Linked DNA regions of Homo sapiens: regions 1 and 3 are each linked to region 2. The links are contacts of gene promoters, found by promoter capture Hi-C in human tissues and cell types (Jung and others, 2019). All regions are on one chromosome and are shown on one strand. The core of a region is centred on a gene start or on the middle of the fragment in contact, and the rest is flanking DNA. Distances in the headings are between cores, read along the strand shown. Region 1 overlaps ARHGAP17 (Rho GTPase activating protein 17). Region 2 holds the start of SLC5A11 (solute carrier family 5 member 11). Region 3 overlaps TNRC6A (trinucleotide repeat containing adaptor 6A).

Region 1 (2,700 bases), core at 140-2,639, 120 kb after region 2:
AGAGTTTGTTTTTTTTTTAATGTAATGACTTCTGTTTTTGGCATCAAGGTACACAAATTAATGTGAAGGGCCTCCCATTTATGACAAAAACTTGGAAATGCTAGTTAGAAGTAATGAACATCCTTTTATAATAACTGGGAAAGCAATAAAGTAAATTCCTTGATTCCCCTCAACCCCACCATACACACACACACACAAAGAGAGAAAGAAGAAAAAGAAGCAGAAAGAAAGAAAAAGTCGGAATGCTAAGCATCAATGGAAGCTGGAGATGACCTGGGGCAGATTTGTGCCAGTCTTGGTGACCAAGGTGTCTGAAGCCTTGGGGACTAGTAAGGAGAAACAAGTACACATATATCATGCATAAAGATAAGATTCCTGAAGAACTGTACTCTCAACGAAACAACAGATTAGAACAAATGCACTTAGCATCACATGGAAATCATGGGGAAGTATGTCTGTTTTGGAATGGGCTTTAGGTCTGAGAAACATTGGCCAAGAGATTTCACAAAACATAGGCCTGCTTTCAGGAGGGTTTAAAGTTTAAATTTACTGACATGTGGTCCCAGAAACCCCAAACTGATTTAAGTTTAATTAAAAATGGACCTGGACTGGTAATACTCTCTGGGAAGTCTCATTCCCAATCCCTGATAGTCCCACAGATAAAGCCCCTCTTAAAATGAGTTCAAATAATTACAAAACACATGAGGAAATAATCCACCACAAGCAGACACCTACCACTCTCACAGAGAATTTCAGAAAACAGAATTAACAGAGATTATTAAATAAGTATGTTTAAAATGACTTAAAAGAAAGAAACACTAGAAAAGAATAATGTAGTATCAAAAAGATTTGAATAACTAGAACTTCAGAAATGGAAAATATAGTCAATGAAATTAAAAACTCAGTGTTATTTGAGTAGCAGATCAAACATAGCTAAAGAGAGAATCAGTGAAACAGAACATAGATCTGAGGAAATTACCCACAAGGTATGCATAGAGAGAGAAGGAGGCAGAAAATATTTTCTTAAGTTTTTACCACTTGAAATACTGACAAGTGTGGAAGTTGAGAGAACAGACATCAGCCCATGATGACTTCCTAAACCTCTACCCAAATTTGTGTGCAATAAGTAGGCAATAGCCAGGATCTAGGTTAGACCAGATATTAAGAAGACTGCTGGGTAAATGACACTGACAAAGCTACAACTCTTCAGACCACAAATAAGCCAATGTGACATTATTTTAGTAGAAGCATTTATCTGAATATCATCTTTTAAACATAAAAACTTTTTAAAACAAAGGCATAACTTTGTGAGTTTAGTTTTAATTTCTACCCACTATATTATTTTTATATTTTTCTTATATTTCTACCCACTATATTATTTTAAACAAGTCATTTAATTGCAGTTAACTGATCAAGGTTTGCTATTTTGAAAAGCAAAGTATGTCATGACCTAAATGAACTAAAATATAACAGTCTTAATATTAGCAGGAAATAAAAAAACAATTTTTTTAAAACAATGAAAAATAAGAGCAGGAAAAGTCTAAGTCAATCCAGACTTAAGACTCTAGATTGTCAAGACTCCCCGAAGACCTATTCCTTTACCATTTCAAATAATTTCACCTCAAATAACATTCAGAATGAACATCTATCTACACAGGTGGATGCAGAGAGAATGAGATCACTTGACCATCTAATTAATCTGTAATTTATGAGATAAAAAGCTCTATTTCTCCCAAATTACAAACCAATTGTTCAAGCAACATTTTAAAAGTAATCCTTATCTTCTCCAAGGACATATGAGCCATTTACTGTATATTAAATTTTACATTATAGCATTCATTCCAGAAAACCTATACTATTTCACTGATCTATTTTAATGCTTCTTATACAGTTTTACTTCTTTTTTCTTACTTTTGTATTTCTTATGCATTTTTAATCGCTGTAATTTTATTATATGTTTTGCTATGGTTTTCTTTCCTTTTTTCTGACTTCATCTTTAAATAAGCTTAGACATCTTGTCAAGTTTTTAAAAATATCCTATTTGAAATTTAAAATGTTTTATTCTGATCATAAAATAATATAGTCTTAGAGAAGAAGAAAATAAAACCTACCTTTAAAATCATTCAAAATATTCTGATAGAAATTATTTAAAACATTAAGTAACTTACATTTGAACTTTCATCCCTCATTTGCAAAAACCGAAAAGATACATTTATCAAGGAATTCTCATACCTTGCACTGTTCTACTTTATTTCCAGCTTCATCCATCTCTTCCTTTAGAGTATCTATTTTTGATGGAAGCCCCTGAAAGTTGGTTCCTGAGGATTTGTGAGCTTGGTTCCACCTGCAAAACAAAGGGGTCACCAGCATCTGAGAACCAGCTGTGTATACTCAACAGCTGGAGGCAGGACCTGGTGGAGATAGATCCTTCCCCACAATTGATTCTACCTGGAAGGGGTATCATTGCCCAGGATGCCAAATTCTCTTGAGCTTATTCTCTAAGAATGGAAGCAGGCAAAAGGAGACTTTAGCTTCTCACCATGACAGGACTCTCATAGTGCTAGGAGTAGTGGTCTGCTTTGAGCATAACCAACCACATCTTGTCTCACACAAACTCTACTACTGGAGAGAAATCCATGGAACCCCTTTCTTGTGGTGGCCAACCATGGAATCCCTGCCACCGGAGGAGAGCAAGGTGCT
Region 2 (2,700 bases), core at 102-2,601:
ACCCTTTATCCAGTCAAGCCACCCTCCACTGCTCCTGCAGGACTCTAGAGCCAGGTGGCCTGGGCTGAAATCTTGCTGTGTCACTTACAACCCGGGTGATCCTGGGCCGATGACTCATCTCCTCTACCTCTGTTACCTCGTCAGTAAGATAGAGATAACAGGACCTAACTTCGAGGGTTGTTGGAAAGACCAAGTGAGTAAAGGCATGTTGTGCCCTTAGAGCCTGGCACGTGTTCATCACTGCTATTATTTCTGGCTACTCGGTGCCAGGACAGGGGCCTCAGCTGAGGGCCCCCCAGAGCCTGGCAGGCCCAGTGAAGGAGTGAGATGGGGAGGCCACGACTCCTCCCCAGTCAGCAGCTGTCCTGTGGCCATGGGGGCCTGGTGAGGCCAGATCTTCAGGTTGTTCTAGAAAAGTGAGTATTCTAGAATTATGTTTCAAGCCTCTTGGTTTGCAAATACTAGTAACTATTTTTAAAATGTTTTGGTATTTGGCCTGGCACAGTGTTTGACCCCTGTAATCCCAGCACTTTGGGAGGCCAAGGTGGGAGGATCACTTAAACCCAGGAGTTGGAGACCAGCCTGGGCAACATAGCAAGATTCTCTCTCTACCAAAAAAATGAAAAAATTAGCTGGGTGTGGTGGTGCACGCCTGTAGTCCCAGCTACTCGGGAGGCTGTGGTGGGAGGATCACTTGAGCCCAGGAGGATGAGCCTGCAGCAAGCTGTGATGCCACCACTGCACTCCAGCCTGGGTGACAGAGTGAGATCCTGTCTCAGAAATAAAAAGTAAATAAAGTTTTGGATGCTTTGAGCATCTGGCAGAAATCTTCGCTATGCCCCGCTGATGTCCTGGGCCCGATGTGGGCGCCTGGCCATGGCTCGGTCACTCCTGACGGTTTTTCAGGGCCTCAGACACCTCTTCTTCTTCTTCTTCTTCTTTTTTTGAGACTGATTTTCGCTCTTGTTGCCCAGGCTGGAGTGCAATGGTGTAATCTCGGCTCACCACAACCTCCGCCTCCCGGATTCAAGTGATTCTCCTGCCTCAGCCTCCCGAGTAGCTGGGACCACAGGCATGCACCACCATACCCGGCTAACTTTGTATTTTTAGTAGAGATGGGGTTTCTCCATGTTGGTCAGGCTGGTCTCGAACTCTCGACTTCAGGCAGACACCTGTTCTTTGCCATGCCTCTGTCTGAAGAGTATATGGAAAGGGGTTGCACAAGCAATGGTTGCTGTTCCTGTTGCTGCCACTGCGGTGAGGGCTGTGGCTGGACGTCCCTCCTGGCACTTTGCCTCTGTCCCCTCCATCCGCCGCCAGCATTTTTCCTCCCCTCCCCTTCCTCCAGCTCGTCCCAAGCCTGCCTGTCCCCAGCGTGGAGGCGGGACAGTGGAAGACTGGGTGAGTGAAGCAGGATGGTGCCTTGGGCTCCAGCGTCTCCCCAACCCCTCCATGCCATGGGTCCCCACGCAGGTGAGGACCCTGGTGGAGGACGGTGTGGGCAGAGCGTGGGACATGTCACCTTCCCCACCTGCTCAGAGTTCAAGGGTCCTGGGCTGGGCCCCGTTCTCTCTTCTGCCCTGGGGAGATCATTCACGCTTCCTTTAATCCCCGCTGCAGCTGAGGCTGGAGTTTGGAGTTTGACCCGCTTGGAGGCTCTCTCAGCAGCGGGCATATAGGAGGAAGGGTCACTGCTGTCTCCGGAAGCTCTTGGCTGCAAAGAGAGAGGATCCCGGGTATCTCCCTCCTTACAACCACCGCCACCTCCTAGTGCCTTAGAAGCCACTGACAGCCCCCAGGGCAGGTGAGCCCTGCATCTGGAATAAGGTAAGACACCCCCTGCCCCCAAACAGGTAGCCACTCTCCAAACTGGGAAGTTGGTCTGGGGACAGGTGCTGGCAGAAGGACTCCAGCTGTCACCTGTGGGGCAGGGGAAGCTCAGCCCTCTCTGCAGAGAAAGCTTGTCATACACCAGGACAATGGAGTGTGTTTGTGGGGTGGGCATGGTGGTATGAAGCCAGCAGCCGGCAGCCAGCAGCACCGTACGTGGGTCCCAGCTCTTCCACTTAACCAAGGTCAGGGACATTGAGCCAAACATTTTGCCTCACCGAGTCTCAGGTTCCTTATCTGTCAAATGGGAATATGAACCTCAGGCTGACCCACCCCACAGGTGTGTTACCCAGAGATAACGAAGGTAAATGTATCCACATAAGCATTAAAAAGCTATAGGAATGTATTTACTACAACTGCAGCTGCTGTTAACTACAAGGCAAATACAAGTCTTCACTGGTACGTGTCAGACACGTGCAGAGAACTTTACGCCTGGATCTCATCTAACTGACACAGAAACCCTGTAAGGTAGGTACAGCACCCCCTAATTCATGGACAGAGTCTAAGGGTCATTAAATAACTTGCTCAAGGTAATACAGATAGTGAGTGGCCAAGCCAAGACTCAATTCCTGTGGCCATGAGCTCAGCCACAATATCAGTGATTTTCTTTTTCTTTCCTTTCTTTCTTTTTCTCTTTCTTTCTTTTTCTTTCTTTTCCTTTCTTTTCTTTGTTCTTTCTTTCTTTCCTTCTTTCTTTTATTTCTTTCCTTATTCCTTTCTTTCCCTTTCTTTCTCCTTCCTTCTTTCCTTCCTTCCCTCCCTCCCACCTCTCTGTTTCTCTTTCTTTTCCCTTTTTTCTTTCTTTCTTTC
Region 3 (2,700 bases), core at 151-2,650, 98 kb before region 2:
CTTGTTTACAACCTGTACCAAATGTTTGCTTGTTTTCTTATTTCAGATGTGTTCAGTTGTTTCTACAAAATTGTAGGAATTTTTTTCCTATAAAAAAAATCATGTTTCCTAGCTGAGTGCAGTGGCTCACCCCTGTAATCCCAGTACTTTGGTAGGCCGAGGTAGGAGGATTGCTTGAGCCCAGGAGTTTGACACCAGCACCACCTCATTCCAGCTCGGGGCAACTGAGTGAGACTTCGTCTCTAAATAAATAAATAAGAAGTTTAGTGCTTGAGGTTTCTATTGGGAGCTGGTTCTGTACACTATGGAAATCTACTCCCCGCCCCACTTTAAAATTACTGTGTAGTATTCCTTGGTGTGATTACAGGATGATTTAACTTTTCCCTATTGATTGGTTTTTGGTTATGATTTTATGCTGCGGTGTCTATCTTTGTACGGTTCCTTTTTCAGAGGCTTAGATTTGAATTGATGGATCATAAGATAGTGACATTTAAAAATTCATTGTGAATAGATACTTCCAAATTGCTCACCAGAAGCTTAGTGCTAGTCCATACATACTTCTGATAGCAAGTACAAGAGTACCCTTCAGAAGGGATTAATTTTAATGATATTCAGGGCTGGGAATGTAGGAAAAATTGACCATCAAGTGTCAGGAGGCGCAAGAGTAGGAAGGGGCATTCTACCTCCAAGGTGTACCCTGCTCCCTTGATAGGCCCTTGAAATAGAGACAGACTCTCACTATGTTGCCCATTCTGTTCTCAAACTCCTGGCCTCCCAGACTCCTGGGATTACAGGCCTGAGCCACCATACCCGGCCAGAAACGCATTCTTGAACGGTACAAGTAAATCATTTGTAGTGGCTACTGGAAGATACGGGCAAAATTTGAAGCTTAGCTTGATTTGTTGTGTGGAATCCTAATCTTGATCTATTTGTTTTTTCAGATCGAGATATTGCATTTCCCCTAGTCAATGTATGAAACCAACTTTAAAATACAATTTACATACAGTAAAATTCAAACATTGAGTGTGTAGGTGAATGATTTGACAAATGTATACACCCTTGTAATTATCACTCCAATCAAGTTAGAAAACATTTCCATTTTCCTAGAAAGTTCCCTCAGTGGCATTGACTTTTACAGGCCACCTCAAAGCCTTTATACATGAGATGCAGGACATAAGTCAAGTTCTGATAAAAGGGGAGTCTGGTTTTTACAGACAACGAGGTAGATTCATAGAACTTACAGATGTGAGGTATCCTGCAAAGTAGCCTTCAGGGCATGGATGATTGCTAACTGGAGTGTTGTCTTGGTGGCAGGTGCATCAAACAGGGTGGCCCACTTAGGCCTTTCAAATCCATCAGTCCTTGCTCCTCTTGATAGTTGTGGTAAATGATATAGTCAGATGTCTTAAGTGAGTCTCTATGAACATTTAACTCCTGGAAGCTGACGTGTTTGGGCACAGGTGTTGTTGTTGTTTTTCCAGTTGGCTTTCTCTGAAGGAGGAGATATGGGAAAAAGCATGACTGGTTGGCTGTGATGATAGTGTTGAAGAACAAAACTTACTCCCCTCTGTGCTTACAGTATCGGCTGATACTGTGATATTTCCTTGAGAAGAAATGTCTGGTACATCTTTTAAGTACTAAAGGGGATATTTTTGGCCAGGAAAACACTTGCTAGTAACCTCATCAGAAAGTCTTGAAAATGAAGTTTGAGAAAGGAGAAAATACTCCAGATAGAGACCATTACATGGAGTAAAATTATAGTGACATAGAAGATCAGAAAAGGACATGTCTGTAATTCACAGCAGAACATGAAGAACAAATGCTGAAGGTGCTAGATGTTTCTGAATAAGTACCTGTGCTATTTTGACACAAGAAGGGTAAAGACAGCCTTTTGGGTGCCACTGAGGACTGGTGAGTTGGATTCATGGCTAGGCAATTGAGTGCTTACTAGATAAGCTTTGTGCTAAGTAAGCAGTCCTAATTCTTATAAAAATATTAAGACATTGACATGTATGGTCATTTGCCCCCAGTTTTTTCATGAAGAAACAGAGGCTGAAGAAGATTAAGTATTTTTAACTAGTAATCAGCTTTTAATCTTGACTTCTGCATGTCTCAGGGTAGGTAACATGACAGTGGTGTAACCTAGTTGCCGTTGTTTACTGATTTTACTCTGCTGCTCTCATATGCTGTGGCTTTCTTGCTCCTTGACTTCCCTGGGATTGTAGTGTGAGTGAGCTTGTTCAGTCTTACTACCTCCTGCACACAGAATTCAAAAGAGAGTGAGTCATGGCCACAGTTGGCAGGAATCTGTTATGTTACTCCATTAGCCACATGACACTTCTGCTTGTAACAAAATGACAGCGAAGTATAGCAACAGTTATCATACTCTTCTTCCAGTTATCCTTTTAGCTGATTTTAGTAGTCCTATACTTTACTAAGTTTTTATCAATTGTGCATAATGTCATTCATTTCATTTTTCGGTGTCTGCATCTCCTCTCAGTCTGTTCCATCAGCAAAGCCAACTTAAATTTTGTTTAATCTCATTGCAGCGCACCTATAGCAACAACCCCTTCCAGTTTCTTAGGCACTTGTCTTTCTCCTTTTATCTTCTTCAACATCCCTACTGCCATATGCATTCCAGCCTTGATAAATAATGTGCAGCTTCCAAAATGTCTAGTTCATATCTCCAAATCTCTCTTT

The links. Contacts are between HindIII fragments. The study calls those that stand out against the background at their distance.
Region 1: a contact is called between a fragment that was not itself captured here and the fragment with the promoter of SLC5A11 in region 2, in 5 of the 25 tissues and cell types used here (H1 embryonic stem cells, IMR-90 fibroblasts, dorsolateral prefrontal cortex and 2 more).
Region 3: a fragment that was not itself captured here is called in contact with the fragment with the promoter of SLC5A11 in region 2 in 2 of the 25 tissues and cell types used here (bladder and hippocampus).

The regions. Positions count from the first base shown.
Region 1 is chr16:24,961,965-24,964,664 of GRCh38, forward strand. ARHGAP17 (Rho GTPase activating protein 17) reads right to left here. Exons shown (of 20, transcript NM_001006634.3): 7 at 2,233-2,344. Among named protein-coding and RNA genes, the nearest start is that of ARHGAP17, 52 kb to the right of the region's middle. The HindIII fragment of the contact is 8,561 bases long and covers 1-2,700 here.
Region 2 is chr16:24,844,612-24,847,311 of GRCh38, forward strand. SLC5A11 (solute carrier family 5 member 11) reads left to right here and starts at 1,352. Exons shown (of 17, transcript NM_001352248.3): 1 at 1,352-1,401; 2 at 1,621-1,827. The HindIII fragment of the contact is 12,271 bases long and covers 1-2,676 here.
Region 3 is chr16:24,746,169-24,748,868 of GRCh38, forward strand. All of the region lies in intron 2 of TNRC6A (trinucleotide repeat containing adaptor 6A), which reads left to right. Among named protein-coding and RNA genes, the nearest start is that of TNRC6A, 18 kb to the left of the region's middle. The HindIII fragment of the contact is 3,228 bases long and covers 1-2,700 here.